Linked DNA regions of Homo sapiens: regions 1, 3, 4 and 5 are each linked to region 2. The links are contacts of gene promoters, found by promoter capture Hi-C in blood cells and fetal thymus (Javierre and others, 2016). All regions are on one chromosome and are shown on one strand. Each heading gives the region's core, a stretch centred on a gene start or on the middle of the fragment in contact. The rest is flanking DNA. Distances are from core to core; before and after follow the strand shown. Region 1 has its middle 110 kb from the start of MIR1973. Region 2 holds the start of SNHG8 (small nucleolar RNA host gene 8). Region 3 has its middle 250 kb from the start of MIR1973. Region 4 has its middle 230 kb from the start of MIR1973. Region 5 has its middle 140 kb from the start of MIR1973.

The links. The method cuts DNA at HindIII sites, captures the fragments that hold promoters and counts their contacts. A CHiCAGO score of 5 or more calls a contact.
Region 1: a fragment that was not itself captured here is called in contact with the fragment with the promoter of SNHG8 in region 2 in 4 of 17 cell types (megakaryocytes, M0 macrophages, M2 macrophages and 1 more); the score reaches 11.1 in megakaryocytes.
Region 3: a contact is called between a fragment that was not itself captured here and the fragment with the promoter of SNHG8 in region 2, in 3 of 17 cell types (M2 macrophages, fetal thymus and M0 macrophages). The highest score is 11.8, in M2 macrophages.
Region 4: a fragment that was not itself captured here is called in contact with the fragment with the promoter of SNHG8 in region 2 in 2 of 17 cell types (M2 macrophages and endothelial precursors); the score reaches 6.5 in M2 macrophages.
Region 5: a contact is called between a fragment that was not itself captured here and the fragment with the promoter of SNHG8 in region 2, in 1 of 17 cell types (M2 macrophages). The highest score is 6.3, in M2 macrophages.

What each region holds. Positions count from the first base shown.
Region 1 is chr4:116,184,843-116,188,672 of GRCh38, reverse strand. No RefSeq gene overlaps it. Among named protein-coding and RNA genes, the nearest start is that of MIR1973, 110 kb to the left of the region's middle. The HindIII fragment of the contact is 5,449 bases long and covers 1-3,830 here.
Region 2 is chr4:118,277,147-118,280,652 of GRCh38, reverse strand. SNHG8 (small nucleolar RNA host gene 8) reads right to left here and starts at 1,891. Exons shown (of 3, transcript NR_034011.1): 1 at 1,861-1,891; 2 at 1,222-1,264; 3 at 830-1,029. It overlaps SNORA24 (small nucleolar RNA, H/ACA box 24), which reads right to left and starts at 1,463; the gene lies at 1,333-1,463. It overlaps PRSS12 (serine protease 12), which reads left to right. Exons shown (of 13, transcript NM_003619.4): 13 at 1-615. RefSeq lists a silencer at 2,064-2,113 and an enhancer at 2,184-2,363. The HindIII fragment of the contact is 13,799 bases long and covers 1-3,506 here.
Region 3 is chr4:116,048,113-116,052,160 of GRCh38, reverse strand. No RefSeq gene overlaps it. Among named protein-coding and RNA genes, the nearest start is that of MIR1973, 250 kb to the left of the region's middle. The HindIII fragment of the contact is 7,629 bases long and covers 1-4,048 here.
Region 4 is chr4:116,067,566-116,071,144 of GRCh38, reverse strand. No RefSeq gene overlaps it. Among named protein-coding and RNA genes, the nearest start is that of MIR1973, 230 kb to the left of the region's middle. The HindIII fragment of the contact is 1,535 bases long and covers 1,331-2,865 here.
Region 5 is chr4:116,162,826-116,166,370 of GRCh38, reverse strand. No RefSeq gene overlaps it. Among named protein-coding and RNA genes, the nearest start is that of MIR1973, 140 kb to the left of the region's middle. The HindIII fragment of the contact is 1,791 bases long and covers 678-2,468 here.

The sequences.
Region 1 (3,830 bases), core at 184-2,683, 2.1 Mb after region 2:
TTATTAATATTGAGCGTTTTTTCATATGCCTGTTGGCCATATGTATGTCTTCTTTTGAAAAGTGTCTGTTGCTTTCATTTGCCCACTTTTTAATTTTTTTTTTCTTGTAAATTGGTTTAAATTCCTTATGGATGCTGCATATTGAACCTTTGTAAAATCTATAGTTTGGAAATATATTCTCCCATCCTGTATGTTGCGTGTTTACTTCATTGATAGTTTCTTTTGCTGTGCAGAAAGGCTTTAGTGTAATTAGATACCATTTGTCAATTTTTGTTTTGTTCAGTCTTCTTCCAGTCTTTTCCCTCTATATTTTCTTGAAATAAAATCATACTAATTATATTTCATATGTTGTTTATTATGTTTATTTTGCATTTTATTTTATTATATAGGCAATATCAGAACTGTAAAAAAAGTGTGTAGTCTTTTTTTCCTTACAAACCAAATACTCACAAAGCCAATACCCAGATCAAGAAAAAGAATATTCACAGAATTCCAGATATCCCTTTGTTTCCCTCCTTCTAGACACTAATCCCCTACAAAAGTAAACACTAGCCAAACTCACTGTGCCGTAAATTAGATTTTCCTCTTTCTGACATTTATATAAACGGAATCACAAATTTTAATTTTGTTTAGTGGTTTCATCCATTCAACATTATGTTTGTGCAGTTTAACCTGGTGGTTGAAAGCAACCATGATGCATTTGTTTTCACTGCAATTTATTCATTCTGTTTTTCACAGACCTTCAGGTTCTTTCCCCTTCTGGGTTATTATGACTAATACTGCTATTGATGGCTTATGTAGGGATTGTCATTGTATACATACATAGAAATAGAAGAGCAGAGTCTGCAGGTTGTAGTGAAATGTATCCAGTATACATTTAATAGTATTCAATTCTATCATTAAAAATAACTAGAACATATATATGAAACAAAAAAGAAACAAAACATATGACAGTTGGATGAATCTAACTATACAGACAAGTAGCTTGTGAGAAAAGTTACACATAAATTATGAAATAAATTTTAGTTGTCAACATAAAAAAGAAGGATGGAAGGACTAAGAAGTCATCGGGATATTCATTAAGTATATGAGGAACTTTGATACCCCAAATTATGCACATAAAACATTAAATATTCATGATACAGTAAATATGCAAGCCACATGAGTCATTCAGTATCACGGAGTTTTTAACCAGCCACCCATTAGTGATGCCCCATCGTCATTCGTTTGTCCTTTGCCATATAGTACCCGTAACTGTTTATCTGGCCAATTCGTAAGGCTCAGCTACAGGCATGCACCTTCCTGAGTGTCTTCAAAAGAACAAGAGTGTTATGGTTACAGGCCCCTCTATCTGCTGACTTCCTTTTTTTATACCTTAACTCTGGTTCTTGTATCCCTGCCATCAGTAGGAAAACCTGATGAAGCAGAAAGAGATAGGATATATGTACATTGCATAAAACAAGACTCAAGTAGCTTGGTCATTCTACTCTGCTTGCATGCTATCCTAAGTGTGTAACCCTACCTTCTTCTCTTTCCCCTTGATTCTTACGGTGTGTTTGCAATAAATTCGATAAACCATGAGATTAATTTATTTCAATTTTCTCAGTGAGTCTGTTCTGTGACTTTAGCAATACACTTGTATCAATTTTTCACACTTCCACAAGGATAGAATGCAATTATATAGGCATTCCAATTAAATTAGTAAGAGGATGAATTTGTGCTCTAAAAAATATTCTCTAAAATGAAAGCAATATCCAAGATGAAGAAATCTAATTTAGAAGGACTATCAAACAACACACCCACAGTTTATATTAAGAAGTTAAATATTCAGACCCAAACTCAATTTAGATTTAATAAGCCTCCCTAAAAAGGTCTTGAAATCTAAAAGAAAAAGCCCAAGTCTAAAGAAGATAACTTTGATATTGTTGGAAACTTTAACAAATGACAAATGACAGAATATAACAGAAAAAAGATAAAATATCAAATGCCCAAGTATGAGGAAATGACCCCAGAAATTATTTTCAATAGAAAGAAACTCAAAGCCAAGGCAGATAGCTTAGACATTATATAATGATGTCTCATCAAAGAATAGGGCAAAAAATTAAGATACAATAGCCCAGCTCGGGAAAACAGAATACATAAATTTGTATTTGCTTCTCCCTTCTCAGTCGCTACCCAGAGGATAACAAAGTGAGCATTATGATCTGCTGATGTTTATTTACAAATCCTAAGAAAGTGCTGGTGACCATTGAACTTTAAATTCAGGAACTAGGAACTACATCAGGTCAAAATTTCTATAAATGAATTAGAGTGTGTAACTAAAACTAGGAAAAAGTAATGAATGGATAGAGCTAATTAGAAAACACTCTATTCAGAGCCACTCTTCTACAGGCTGCAGGCAGTAAACGTTGGTGGCAACTGCACCATGCCATCTCCACTAGTGCACAGAGTGCAGAGCTGTGGGTGCATGGCTGCCTCCACTTAGATTTCAAAAAATGTCCCAGACAGCCTCAGGGCCCAGGCAGAGAGCTGCCACAGGGGCAGGGCCACTTTAGAGAACTCCCACTAGGGAAATGTCTAGTGGAGGTTTGGGAGCAGGTCTACCCTCAAGACCCTCACCTGTGTTAAATTCCAGCCAAGGAGAGCCATAGACTTCGTGTCACCACTGTGCCTGGGACCACTGGAACCACACGTGGGACAGTTGAATATTGGTGTGCCAGAAAGCAGGGAGCAGAGATTTGTGGTGGTACAGGAAAGGGAGGAGAGTGTGGAGGCCAGTAGGGGCCTCAGGTCTCTCTTGATATTTTTCTGTCCCCCAGGCCTTGGAATTCTAGACCTATGATAGAAGTGACAGACCTGATGCTCTCCAAAATGAGTTTGAGGTCATTCCTCCATTGTCTTGATGAATAGCACCTGTCTTCATCCATAGGAAGGACTGCTTGTCCATGCCCTTGGTGTAATCTTGTAAACAGCCTTTCTCATTCTTTGCAACATGGGGAGACTGTGGTTTTTCCAAATCTTTCAATTCTGCTTCCTTTTTATCAATTTCATGTTTACATTTTTTTCTCTCGTCTGGTATTTTATTATAAGTAGTCAAGCGAAGCCAAGCTGCTCCTTCAACATTTTGCTTAGAAATTCTTTTGTCAAATATCCCATTTCACCTCTCACAAGTTTCACCTTCCACAAAACACTAGGACACGAGCACAATTCAGCCTAGTTCTTTGCCACTTTATAACAAGGATTACCTTTCCTCCAGTTTTCAATAACTTGCTCCTTACTTTTTATCTGAGCTTCATCAGAATGGAAATACTGTCCATATTTCTATCAACATTCTATTCACGCTATCTTAGAAAACATCTAAGAAGACTGAGGCTTTCTCTCTAACTTTTCTCTTCTTCTGAGCCCTCACCAGAATTACTCCTAATGCTCCCCCATTTATGGCAATGTGGGCTTTTTCCTAGCATGTACTTCCAAAGTCTATCCATTACCCAGTTTCAAAGTCCCTTCCATATTTTTAGGTATTTGTTCCAGCATCAGCCTCACTTCTGGTAGCAATTTCTTTCTTAGATTATTCAGGCTGCTTTAACAAAATACCTTGGATTGGATAATTTACAAACTACAGAGATTAATTGTTCACACTTCTGGAGGCTGGAAAGGCAAAGGTCAAGGTGCCAGCAGATTCAATGTCTGGTGAAGGCTCACTCTCTTCCTCACAGATGGTACCTTCTTGCTGTATCTTCACATGGTAGAAGGGGCAAACAAGTTCCCTTGGGTGGGCCTCTTTTATAAGGCACTTATCCCACCTACCTCATGACCTGATCACCTCCCAA
Region 2 (3,506 bases), core at 642-3,141:
ATGTCATGGATCCTTCCCCAGGTCCCAGTAGTATAAATATAGGGAAGAGGTTAGCATGAACTTACAAATTGTTTTAAGTAATCCTCTTGAATGCCAGTCATTAAAGGACTTTGCCCTTCTACATCAAATTACATCCTTTTCACAAATCCCCATTTCTGTAATAACTGGTGCAAACCTAAAGGTGCTTTATAGTTTTACTACTTTGCAGATTTGCAATGCTGCATATAATGCAGAAGAGCATTAAAAACTTTTGTAAAAACTCATGATTTTGATAAACTTTTAAAGTAGCGTTTATATGTAAATAGAACTACACATGGCACACACACTTGCACAAGGGCTTCAGAAAAACGTGCAATATAGGTGAGAAAAATGTCTATTGAAACTTTCTCACAGGCTGCCCTTATAATTAAACTAGTGTTGGGGCAAGCAACATCTGTTTCAAGTAGATCAGGGACTAGCAAACCTAAAAGGCAGCAAGCAGCCTGCAGTTTGCTCAATCCTTAAGAATACATGGTTCATACAACATGCTTTTACTATGTCTTAAGTGTGACTTTTGAAAGATACAAGTGTTCTGTGCATATTTGTGTAAATAAATACATAATTTTCCACCTTGTATAACTGCCTTAAATTTTTGTATGGTTTAAAAAGAGTCTGCTGTCTCCCTTGGGGGTAGCCTGGTAATTTTTATATTTTACATTTTTCACAAAGGCTGCAATTACCTTAGAACTGTACTCACACTACTTCCACATGAGCGTGTAACACTAAATAGGAGGTATTATGCTATTAACTACCTTTCCGTCTATTAATCACTCAGTCAAGGAACAATGAGTAGCCACATGAATTAAGCATTTTATTTAATTATCACGGACCACCTTAAATATTACTTTACAAAATTCAGGCCTATATTTAAAATAGGTGTCCTGATAACTTCCAGGATATTATTCGGAACACCCGTTTCCCCAACTACGATAAGTCCATTGCCGGATGCTGAATAAACTTCGCCCATTACCACTTGGATTTCTTGATAGTCTGCAAGAGAAAAAAAGCATTATAAAACTCCGAGCTGTGTACTTACCTCACTGTTTTGAGATCTTATCAGCTAATTCAGTTGGTTGTTAACTCAAACTACAAAAGCCAGCAAAACGGGCCAACTTTAGCTTTCCAACGTCCTGCCGCTAAGGCGTTTCAGATTAACTCAGAAATATCAAAAAAGAAATGTACCTTATGTTTCCATCATCCATCGTAATGTGTTCAGCTCAGCTTCCTAGAAACATTGAACAACGGTTTAGAAATTTTGCCCAATAACCCGGCACCCTCTAGGTTTTTAACAGTGAATGTTACTTGTGCAAGTCAGAATCTGATACCAATTAAATGGTGACAGCTTTGCCAATAAACAAGGATATGCTCTTCCATGGCTAGGAAGGGAGACTGCCACGGCTGACAGGTCCCAAAGATACATGGAGATTCACAATCCAGAATTAACCAGCAACCAAACTGCTACAGGTTATTACTCACCATCTGGCTCAAACTGACGGTTCTCGGGGTGCTAGGGCACAAGAGCGACAGAGTAGACTCAAGATGGCCACATGACACAGACGGCTGAACAGGCTTCACCGGAGTCCCCGAGTGCACGGAACCTTTCCCCGAGGGCCCACGGCCCACGCACGCCGGGGTTCAGGGTCCAGGGCTGCACGTGGACGCCCGGCGACCTAATGAGCACTCAAGTCCGCGCATGCTTGTAAACTTAAGGGTTTCCAAAGCCGCCCCCGACCTACCAATATCCTGACTGCGCTGCCTTTTAGGTAAGGCAGTAAGTTTCGGCCCAATTATCATTTTAACTTACGAAAGACAACTACGTACTTTCACCTAATCCCGACGCTTCCCGAATGTGAAAGGCCGAGGCCTTCGGCACACGCTCTCTTATAGAACTGATGACGCTATTCCGGGGGAAGCGCCGCGAGGGGCGGAGCCTATGCTGTTTCACTCCCCGCCCCGCCTAGCCCCGCCGCGGCTCCACCTGTTCCGTCTACCACCCCCTTCGCGGCTCCTTTCCCCCCTCCCCCGCACATGGTCCACGTCTGAGCGGGTCACCTGGCTCCGGATCCAGACGCATGCGCACATACGAGAGCCAAAAGGTTCTCGCATAGCGAAAGATCCTGACGCTTACCGGTGTAGGTCACGAAAGCGAGGGGGATTTTTTTGGTATTTCCTGTTTAGGATACTTATTTTAGACAATATTAGAAAAAGGGGCCGAACGCGGTGGCTCACGTCTGTGATCCCAGCACTTTGGGAGGCCGAGGCGGGCGGATCACTTGAGGTTAGGAGTTGGAGACCAGCCTGGCTAACATGGCGAAACCCCGTTTCTACTAAAAATACAAAAATTAGCCTGGTGTGGTGGTGAACGCCTGTAGTCCCGGCTACTCGGGAGGTTGAGGTGGGAGAATCTCTTGAGCCCGAGAGGCGGAAGTTATGGTGAGCTGAGATCGCTGGTTAGCATTTTACAAATTACCTAATCACTACTCAAAAACAAGAAAAGTCTGAGAAACTATTATGCCAGAGAAAATGATGCATAATGATTAAATGTAATGTGGTATCCTGGCTGGGATCTCCAGCAGAAAAAGGACATTAATGGAAAACTAGCGAATCTGAACAAAGTGTGGAATTTAGGTAATAGTGCCAATACCGATTTCTTTATTGTGACAGATATACCATGGTATTGTAAGATATTAATGGTAGGGGAAATTGGATGAAGGGGGTGTGGGGACTCCATTTTTGCAAATTTTCTGTAAATGTAAAACAAAGTTTAACTTAAAAAAGCAATTATAACCTTACAGTCTATTATACTTTCATTTTAAGACAAAGTAGTGATTTAGTAGTGGTTTCTATCTACTTTAGTGTGAAATTTGTGGCTGAGATGACAGTATTTCTAAGTTTGACTTGAGATCAAACCCAATGAATTTAGCTGCATTCAAACCAAGGCTTTGAGCCTTTGGATATTCAGGAGAGACAATGTGGTAACAAATAAAAGAATTAAAAATTGGTTGGTAAATGAAGATTGGCTTAAGGATTTTATTTTATGTATTTATTTATTTAGAAACATTCTTGCTCTGTTGCCTAGCCTGGAGTGCAGTGGCATGATCTTGGCTCAGTGCAACCTCCACCTCCTAGGCTCAAGCGAGCCTCCTGCTAGGCGTGTGCCACCACTTGGCTACTTTTTTTTTAAGGTTTTTTTTTTTTGAAAGACAAGCCCTCACTATATTGCCCTCAGGCTGATCTCCTGTGCTCCTGGGCTCAAGTAATCCTCTTTCCTCGGCCTCCCAAAGTGCTAGGATTGCAGGTGCAAGCCACTGCGCCCAGCCTAAGGATTTTAAAGATAGAATGCAAGGTGAACCTGTTAGAACTGATCAAATGATGGCTAGGTAACATTTCAGTTCTGCTTTTGATACATGGAGTGAACAGTTCATTATAGAATATTTATTCTTCAACAATGCTTTTCCCTGCACTAT
Region 3 (4,048 bases), core at 274-2,773, 2.2 Mb after region 2:
TTTACTTCTTTGTAAAAACTGAATAATATTCGATTGTATGTATATACCGTATTTTCTTTTTGCATTCATCCATTGATAAACATTCCAGTTGCTTTCATGTTTTCCCTATCGTGAATAATGCTGCAATGAACATGGGAGTGCAGACATCTTTTTGAGATCGTGATTTCAATTTCTTGAATGTATATACAGAAGTGGGATTGCTAGATTATATAATAATTTCATTTATAATTTGGCGGGGAACGTCCATCCTTTTTTTCCATAGTTGTTGCACCAATTTGCATTTCTATCAACAGTATATAAGGGTTCCCTTTTCTCTACATCCACAACAATATTTGTTATCTGGCTAGGTGCAGTGGCTCATGCCTATAATCCCAGCACTTTGGGAGGTTGAGGTGGGCAGATTTCTTGAGTGCAGGAGTTTGAGACCAACCTGAGAAACATGGTAAAACTCTGTCTCTACAAAATAAATAAATAAATAAAAATATTAGCCAGGTGTGGTAGTGCACACCTGTAGTTCCAGGTACTCAGGAGGCTGAGGTGGGGGGATCGTTAGAGCCAGGAGGTCGAGGCTGCAGTGACCTATGATTGTGCCACTGCACACCAGCCTGGGCAACAGAGCAAGACCCTGTCTAAAAAAAACAAAAGTTATCTTTTGTAATTGGTCCCTCATCATACACCATACACAAAAATCAACTTAAAATGAATTAAACAATAATATGTGAAGGATTAATAAAATTCCTAGAAGGAAACACAGGAGAAAATCTTCTTGACATTGGTCTTGACAATGATTTCTTGGATATGACAACAAAAGCATAAACAGCAAAAACAAACACACACAAATGGAGCTATGTCAAACTAAAACATTTTCTACACTTCAAAGGAAAAAATGAACAAAATGGAAATTCACCTATAAAAATGAAGAAAATATTTGTAAATCATATATCTGCTAAGGGGTTAATACCTAAAAAATATAAAGAAGTCCTATAATTCAATAGAATAAAAACAAACATACCAATTTAAAAATAGACTAAATAATTAAATAAACATTTCTCAAAGAAAGACATACAAATGACCAATGAGTTTATGAAAAGGTACTCAATGTCACTCACTATCAGGGAAATGTAAGTCCAAAAACCACAAGGAGTTATCACTTCATAACCAACAGAGATTATTATTGGACCTATATATTTTAAGAGGAAGACTGTATCTGGGCATATGTATACTATAAAGAGTATTAGGTACTATTAATCACCTTTTCTTTCCTGTACCATATGCTATAATTTACTGTAAAGAGCACTACTCTATCATAACAGGACTATCATTTTAATTAGACTCCAGTGTGACTTATGTGGACATTTATGTTTTTCTACACATGGTTACATGTGGTGATGTGAGTGAGAGTTTTAAAAGTGCGTAATTTATATGTATTAAACAAAAAAAATGTAGCGAAAGAAAAAATAAATACTGTAACTTGATTTTTCAAAACTAACTTAAATGCAAACACCAAGTGTGGATTTATTTTGTTAGAACATTGTGGGTGTTTAGGCAGAGGAGGATGTAAAAACAAATTGCTATTTTTTTAATTACAAAAATATTACAAGATCTTAGAAAAAATATGTATGAGAACATAAGAAGAAATAAACCAGTAGTGCTATATATAGAAATTTTAAAAGTAAAGTAACACTATGTTCTAAATTTTGAACATCTTGATAAAATAGGCACATTTCTAAAGAAAAATAGAAATGTCCAAAAATCTGTGAATAAAATATACTTAATAGTTAATAATTGAAAGATATCAAAGAAATACATTAAAACTTCACAATTTAGATTATCTTTAGCATGGATGATTCATAAACATATTACCACACTATCCTTAAGTAAACTATTCCAGGAGTAACATAAAGAATACTCATAATGTATTGAATAAAACTAGCAAAATGTTTATTACAAAGCTGATTAATCAATTATAAAAATTTAAAACAATTCCTGTAAACTACTTATGAATGAATATAGATATAACATTGGTAATTAAAAAAACTATAATGAGGCTACACCACTAAAGTAAAAGTTACCTAAATAATGCAATAATTATTTAGTAGGAGAGAAAGAATACATAATATAAACAAGAGGGCTAAAAGTATTATTAAAATGTAGCATGCACTTATTAGAGTACATGCTGAGACAGGATATATAAATTATAAGAACAGAGGGACTCAAAAAATAAATCTAAGGAGTCTTTATTAAGAATACAAGGAATGCCTCATAACAACATAAAGCTAATATTGTTTTATAATAGATATTTTTATTGGGAATTATTAAGAACAACTTAATCATTTAATTTCTAAAGAACCTCTTATCAATAAAAAATAAGATATCTGCACATCGAATTTTGTAGAAAGTCTGAGAATCTTAGATCACTACAGAAGAAAATGTAATAAAAACATTTGTGATGTAAGTTACCACAAGATAGAAGTCTATGGAACATAAATATTTAAGCAATAGTTTAATAGAAAATATGAATAGGGAATAATTTTATTGAAAAGAATGCAAAAAACACCAAAATATTTCAAAATGTTTTAGCTATATAAAGGAAATTAATGTACTAAAATATTTAAATTAAAACTTGAACAAAGGAAAGATGTGCCATGTTTCTATCTAAAACAATTGACATTTATAAAGGTGCTAATTACCCAAGATAAATGTATATATATAAAAAACTACTATAGAAAATAATTTAACAGACATTTATTAAAGTTTGAATACTAGTTTTATAATTATTATGTTGTCCTTAGTGGTTGGGAAAAACTAAAATTCAATCAGTCGTCAAAAATCAAAACAAAAACATTCTTGACAAAAATGGTAAGCCTGCAATGACTAATGACTTTGTACACATAGAATATTCTAGTAATGTACCCAGGAACTAAAAGTTAATACTTCAAAACTCACTTCAGAAAAAGTTATATTACTAGAGATAAAAAGAGGAAATACATAATGATGCAGTCAATTCTTCAAGAGAACATAAAACTCCCAAATGTGAATGCACCTATAGCCCAGAACTACAGAATACAAGTACCAAAACTCACAGAACTAGAAATAGAAATAAACCAATCAATTATTATGGTTGGAAACTTCAACACTTCTTTCTTATTAACAGAACAAGTGGACAGAAAATCAGTAAGCATAAAGAAGAAACAAACTATGTCATTAAACAATTTGACCTAATTGATAATTGTAAAACACGTCAACATCAGGAGAATATATGTTCTTATTCTTTTTAATTATACATGGACTATTCACTAAAAACAAAAACAAAATCATATGTTGGTCCATACAAAAAACTTAGTGCACTTTAAAAACATGAATCATAAAAAGCATATGTTTAGAACGTGATGGAAATAACCTAGAAATCAGTAGGAGAAAGAAAACGGAAATACTCCAAATATTTTATAATTATACTCGAAAAAAACTAGTAGGTGTAAACCTAATAACATTTAAAAGATATTTATTTCAGAAACTGCAAAACACTGATAGAAGCAATCAAAGAAGATCTAAATAAGTGGAGAGACATGCTGTGTTCATGGGTCAGAAGACTATGAATAACCAAAATGTCAAGTCTACTCAAATAGACATACAGATTTAAGACAATTTCTACTAAAACCTCAGAAAGTTTTTTTAGATATAAATAGGATTTTTCTAAAGCATTTAGGGAAAGACATTAAAAAAAAAACTTGAAAGTAAACAGTTTTGAAAAAATATATAGTGGAAACAATCAATTTACATGAATTGAAGCCATATAGCTATAGTAGTCATCCTATGTGTTATTGGTGAAGAAATAGACCCATAGATTAATAAAATAGCATAGAGAACCCAGAAATAGTGCCACTTCAGTACAGCCAACTGATTTGGACAAAGGTAAAAAATCAATGCATTGGATGGAGGACAACATTTTCAACATATGGTGCTTTATTAATTGAATATCCTTAGCCATTCCCCCATCAAACCCTTACTTAAATCTCACATCTTATTAAAAATAATAAAAATCTTGGGT
Region 4 (3,579 bases), core at 849-3,348, 2.2 Mb after region 2:
ATGTTATTGTTGACTATGTTCACTCTACTACGCAATCCAGCATCAAAATTTATTCTTCCAATCTAACTATAACTTTGTACCTATTGATCAACTTCTCCTCATACCCCCTTCTCCTCTATTCTCCCCAGCCTCTGGTAACCACGATACTACTCTCTACTTCCATTAGATCAACTTTTTTAGATTGCACATGTAAGTAAGATTATGCAGTATTTGTCCTCCTGTCCTTGGCTTACTTCATTTAACAAAATGTCCTCTAAGTTTATCTATTTTGTTGCAAATAACATGATTTCATTATTTTTGATGGCTGAATAATATAACATTCTGTATATTTATATATACCACATTTTAAAAATTCATTCATCCTTTTATGCACACTTAGGCTGATTCCATATCCTGGCTATTGAGAACAGGGCTGCAATAAACATGGAAATGTAGATATCTCTGTGACATACTGATTTAATTTCCTTTGGATATATCTAGTAGTGTGGTAGCTAGATCATATGGTAGTTCTACTTTTAGTTTTGTGAAGAATTTTCATACTATTGTCCACAATGGTTGTACTACTTTATATTCCCACAAACAGTTTAGAAGAGTTCCTTTTTCTCCATAGCATCACCAGCATTTGCCTGTTTTTTTATGATAGTCATTCAACTAGGGTGTGGTGATGTCTCATTGTGGTTATCATTTGCATTCCCCAGATGACTAGCAATGTTGAGCACTTTTTAAAATGTGCCTGCTGGTCAGCTGTACTTTTTTTTGAGAAAATTATTCAGATATATTTTTAATTTTATATTAGATTATTATTGATTTTGCTATTGTGTTGTCTAGGTTCCTTACATATTCTGAAGATTAACTTATTGTCAGATACTCAGATTTTGAATATTTTCTCTATTCTTTAGATTGTCTCTTCATTGTGGAGCTTTTTAGTTTGATGTAATTTCATTTGCCTATTTTTGCTTTTGTTACCTGTGCTGTTTGAAGTCTTACTCAAAGCAATCATTGTCCCCACCAATGACATGAAGCATTTCTTCAGTGTTTTCTTCTAGTAGTTTCATAATTTTGAGTCTTACCTTTAGATCTATAATGCATTTTGATTTTATTTTATTAAGTGGTGAGAGGGAGAGATCTAGTTTTATTCTTCTGCATGTGGATATCCAGTTTTCCCAGAACCATTTATTAAAAAGACTTTCTTCAATGTATGTTCTTGGCACCTTTGTCAAAAATCAGTTGGTTGTGAATATGTGGACTTATTTCTGGGATGTCTATTCTGTTCTTTTAGACTATGTGTCGATTTTTATATAAATACAAGTTTTTTTGGTTACTATAAGCTTTACAATATATTTTGAAGTAAAGTGTATTACTGTAGCTTTGTAATACACTTTGTAACATAACTTTGTATTGGTAATTATAGCTTTGTAATATATAGTGTGATGCCTCCAATTCTGTTCTTTTTGCTTAATATTGCTTTGACAATTCAATGTATTTTGTGGTTCCATGAAAATTTTAGGATTTTCATTCTAATTCTGTAAAAAATGTCATTGGTATTTTGATATGGATTGTAATAAATGTAGATTCAATGTCTATTGTATAGTATGAACACTTTAACAATATTATATTTTTCAATTTATAAATGTGGCATTTTTTCATTTATTAGTGCCTTCTTCCATTTTTAATCATTTTTTTGTACTTTTTATTGTAGAGATCTTTTACTTCTTTGGTTAAATTTATTACTAGAGGAAGAGGCATGGTAGCTCATGCCTGTAATCCCAGCATTTTGAGAGGCCGATGAGGGAGGATCACTTGAGCCCAGGACTGGATTATCTTTTTGATATGCTGTTGGATTCAGTTAGCTAGTATTGTGTTGAGGATTTTTGCATCTATGTTAATTAGGAACATTGGTCTGTAGTTTTCTTTTTTTGTTATGTACTTTCATGGTTTTGGTATTAGGGTGATACTGGCTTCACAGAATGACATAGGGAGGATTCCCTCTTTCTCTATCTTTTGGAATTGTGTCAATGGGATTGGTACCAATTCCTCTTTGAATGTCCGATAGAATTCAGCAGTGAATCCATCTGGTCCTGGACTTTTTTTTGCTGACAATTTTTAAATTACCATTTTAATATCACTGCTTGTTATTGGTCTGTTCCGCTTCTATTTCTTCCTGGTTTAATCTAGGGGTGTTGTATATTTCCAGGAATCTATCTGTCTCCTCTTGGTTTTCTAGTTTGTCTGCGTAATGGCCTTCATAGAAGGCTTGAATGATCTTTTGTATTTCTGTGGTATCGATTGTAATATTTATCATTTTATTTCTAATTGAGCTTATTTGGATCTTCTCTCTTCTTTTCTTTTCTCTTTTTTTTTTTTTTTTTTTTTTTTGTGGAGGGTAGGGGTGGTGGGTGGAGTCTCACTCTGTTGCCCAGGCTGGAGTGCAGTGGCGCGATCTAGGCTCACTGCAAGCTCCCGCCTTCCGGGTTCACGCCATTCTCCTGCCTCAGCCTCCCGCGTAGCTGCAACTACAGGCTCCGGCCACCATGCCCAGCTAATTTTTTGTATTTTTAATACAGATAAAGTTTCACCGTGTTAGCCAGAATGGTCTCGATCTCCTGGCCTCAGCCTCCCAAAGTGCTGTGTTTACAGTCTCTTCTTTTCTTTTTTTAATCTTGCTAATGATCTATCAATTTTGTTTAACTTTTCAAAGAACCAGCTTTTTGTTTCATTTATCTTTGGTGTTTTTTTGTTTCAATTTCATGTAGTTCTGCTCTGATCTTTGTTGTTTCTTTTCTTCAGTTGAGTTTGGGTTTGATTTGTTTTTATTTCTCTAGTTCCTTGAGGAGGTATGACGTTAGAGTGTCTATTTGTGAAGCTTAGTTTTGCTGGATAGAAAATTCTTGGATGATAATTGTTTTGTTTAAGGAGGCTAAAGATAGGACCCTAATCCTTTCTAGCTTGTAGGGTTTCTGCTGAGAAATCTGCTGTTCATCTGATAGGCTTTCCTTTTTAGGTTATCTGATGCTCTTGTGTTGCAGCTCTTAAAATTATTTCTTTCGTCTTGACTTTAGATAACCTGATGACTATGTGCTAGGTGATTATCTTTTGCAAGGAATTTCTGGGGTGTTTTTGACCTTGTTGTAGTTGGATGTCTAGATCTCTAGCAAGACCAGGGAAGTTTTCCTCAATTATTCCTTCAAATATGTTTTCCAAACTTTTAGATTTCTCTTCTCCCTAAGGAAGGCTAATTATCCTTATATTTGGTCATTTAACACAGTCCCAAACTTCCTGGAAGTTTTGTTCATTGTTTTTAATTTATTTATTTGTCTTTGTTGGATTTGGTTAATTTGAACGCCTTTTCTTCAAGCTCTTAAGTCCTTTCTTCTACTTGTTCAACTCTATTGCTGGGACTTTCCGGTGTATTTTGCATTTCTCTAAATGTACTTTATTTCCAGAAATTGTGATGTTTTTATTCATGCTATTTATTTCTCTGGATACTTTTCCATCCATATCCTCCATCATTTTTTTTAAATTTCTTTAAGTTGGTATTTATGTTTCTCTGGTTCCTCCTTGAGTAGCTTAATAATTGAC
Region 5 (3,545 bases), core at 324-2,823, 2.1 Mb after region 2:
TCCTGCTGAACTATTCCAAAAAATTGAAAAGGAGGCACTCCTCCCTAACTCATTCGATGAGGCCAGCATCATCCTGATACCAAAACCTGGCAGAGACGCAACAAAAAAAGAAAACTCCAGGCCAATATCCTTGATGAACATCAATGCAAAAGTCCTCAACAAATTACTGGCAAACTGAATCCAGCAGCACATCAAAAAGCTTAGTCATCATGATCAAGTAAGCATCATCCCCAGGATACAAGGTTGGTTCAACATCTGCAAATCAATCAATGTGATTCATCACATAAACAGAACTAGAGGCAAAAACCACATGACTATTTCAATAGTTGCAGAAAATTCTTTCGATAAAATTCAACATCCATTCATGTTAAAAACTCTCAATAAACTAGATATTGAAGGAACATACCTCAGAATAATAAAAGCCATTTATGACAAACCCACAGCCAACATCATACTGAAGAGGCAAAAGCTGGAAACATTCCCTTTGAAAATCAGCACAAGGCAAGAAGGCCCTCTCTCACCACTCCTATTTAACATAGGACTGGAAGTCCTGGCCAAGACATTCAGGCAATAGAGAAATAAAGGGCATTTAAATTGGGAGAGAGAAATCAAACTGTTGCTGTTTGCAGACAACATGATCCTATATCTAAAAGCCCCACTGTCTCACCCCCAAAGCTTCTTAAGCTGATAGACAACTTCAGCAAACACTCAGGATACAAAATTAATGTGCAAAAATTCTATCATTCCTACACACAAACAGCAGTCAAGCTAGAGGCAAATCATGAACAACCTCCAATTCACAATTGCCACAAAAATAATAAAATACCTGGGAATACAGCTAACTAATAAGGTAAAATATCTATAAGGAGAATTACAAACCACTGCTCACAGAAATCAGAGATGACACAAACAGATGGAAAAACATTGTGTGACCATGGATAGGAAGAATCAATATCATTCAAGTGGCCATACTGCTCAAAGCAATTTATAAATTCAATGTTATTCTCATTAAACTACCATCGACATTCTTCACAGAGCTAGAAAAACACTATTTTAAAATTCATGTGGAACCAAAAATGAGTCCAAATAGTCAAGGCAACCCTAAGCAAAAAGAACAAAGCTGGAGGCAGCATGCTACCTAACTTCAAGCTACAGGGTTACATTAACCAAAACAGCCTAGTATTGGTACAAGAGCAGACACGTAAACCAGTGGAACAAAATAGAGAACCCGCACACCTACAACCATCTGATCTTTGATAAACCTGACAAAAACAAGCAATGGGGAAAGCATTATTCTCTAATAACGGCACTGGAATAACTGGCTCTTCTATAAATGGTGCTGGAATAACTGGCTAGATATATGCAGAACATTGAAACTGCCCCTCTTCCTTACACCTTATACAAAAATTAACTCCAGATCAATTAAAGACTTAAAAGTAAAACCCTAAACTACCAAAACCCTGGAAGACAACCTAGGCAATACAATTCAGGACATGGGCACAAGAAAAGGTTTCATGACAAACACACCAAAAACAATTGCAACAAAAGTAAAAATTGATAAATGAGATCTGATTAAACAAGAGCTTCCACATAGCAAAAGAAACTATTAACAAAGTAAACAGACAGCCTACAGAATGGGAGAAAATTTTTGCAAACTATGCATCTGACAAAAATCTAGTATCCAGCATCTATGAGGAAATTAAACTAAAGTACAAGAAGAAAGCAAAAAAAAATTTACAGTAGGCAAAAGACATGAACAGACACTTCTTAAAAGACGACATACATGTGGCCAACAGGCATATGAAAAAAAGAACTCAACATCACTGATTTTTAGAGAAATGCAAATAAAAACCACAATTACATATCATCGCACACCAGTCAGACTGACTGTTATTAAAAACTCAAAAAATAACAGATGCTGGTAAGGTTGTGGAGAAAAAAAATGCTAATACACTGTTGGTGGGGGTGCAAATTAGTTCAGCCATTGTAGAAGACAGTGTGGTAATTCCTCAAAGACATAAAGACAGAAATACCATTCGAGCCAGCAATCCCATTACTGGCTATTTCCCCAAAGAAATATAAATTGTTCTATTATTAAGATGCATGCACATGTATGTACATTGCAGCACTATTCACAATAGCAAAGACATGGAATTAACCTACATGTTCATTAATGATAGACTGAATAGAGAAAAATGTGGTTCATTTATACTGTGGAATTCTATGCAGTCATAAAAAGGAATAAGATCATGTCCTTTGAAGGAACATGGGTAGAGCTAGAGGCCATTATCTTTAGCAAACTAATGCAGGAACAGAAAACCAAATACTGGAAGTTCTCACTTATAAGTGGTAGCTAAATGATGAGAACACATGGACACATTGGGGAACAACATCCATTGGGGCATATCGGAGGGTGGAGAGTAGAAGGAGCGAGAAGATTAGGAAGAATAACTAATGGGTACTAAGCTTAACGCCTGGGTGATAAAATAATCTGCACAATAAACCTCCATGACATATGTTTACCTGTTTAACAAACCTGAACATATACCCATGAACTTAAGTTTTTAAAAAATGAACTTACATAATATATGCCCTCAGACTACAGTGCAATTAAACTGGAACTCAGTAACAGAAAGATAGCTGGGAAATACTAAATATTTGGAGATGAAAGGACAGTTTTCTAAATGACACATTGGACAAACAAATCTCGAGAGAAATTGTAAATATTTTGAACTGAATTAAAATGAATATACAATTGATCAAATTTCTGGGATGCAGAAAAACCAGTAATTAAAGGCAAATGTATATAATATTGCATGCATGTATAAAAAACACTTAAAATCAATAATGTTAAGAAAAAGGAAAGAGCAAGTTCAATGCAAATAAAATAGAAGAAAATATGAATATTAAAGCAAAATTAGTGAAATTGAAAAAAAGAATTATAAAGAAATTCAACAAAACCAAAGCTGATTCTTTGAAAATATCAATAAATGTAGTGGACCTCTGGCCATGCAAACCAATAAAAAAGGAGAAGCAGCACATTTTTTAATACTAGAAGCAAAAAGGAGACTTCACTATTGATCTCATGCATATTAAAAAGATAATGAAGGAATGCTAAAGAGGAAAAATCATAGGAAAATATCAACATACACAGAGAAAAGTATTTGATAAAATCCAATACCCATTTATGATCAGAGCTTTCAGCAAACTGAGAAATAAATGGAAATTCCTTAACTCAAAAAAAAATCTCTAAAGACAAAAAGACAGAAAAATACAGCTAACCTCAAATTAAAGGTGAGAAACTAGAAGGTTTTTTCTTATGATTTAGAACAAAGAAAGATCCGTACTCACTACTCTTATTCAACATGATACCAGAAGTCCTAGCTGAGGCAATAAGACCAGAAAATAAAATAAAAGGTATATAGAAGGGAGGAAATAAAAGTATTGTCCTTCTCAGATGTGTCTGTAATTCCAGAAAATCAACAAAAATATTCCCTTATTCTCTGAATCTCTTATTATTTCTCCTGGAACTAATAAGGAATTAT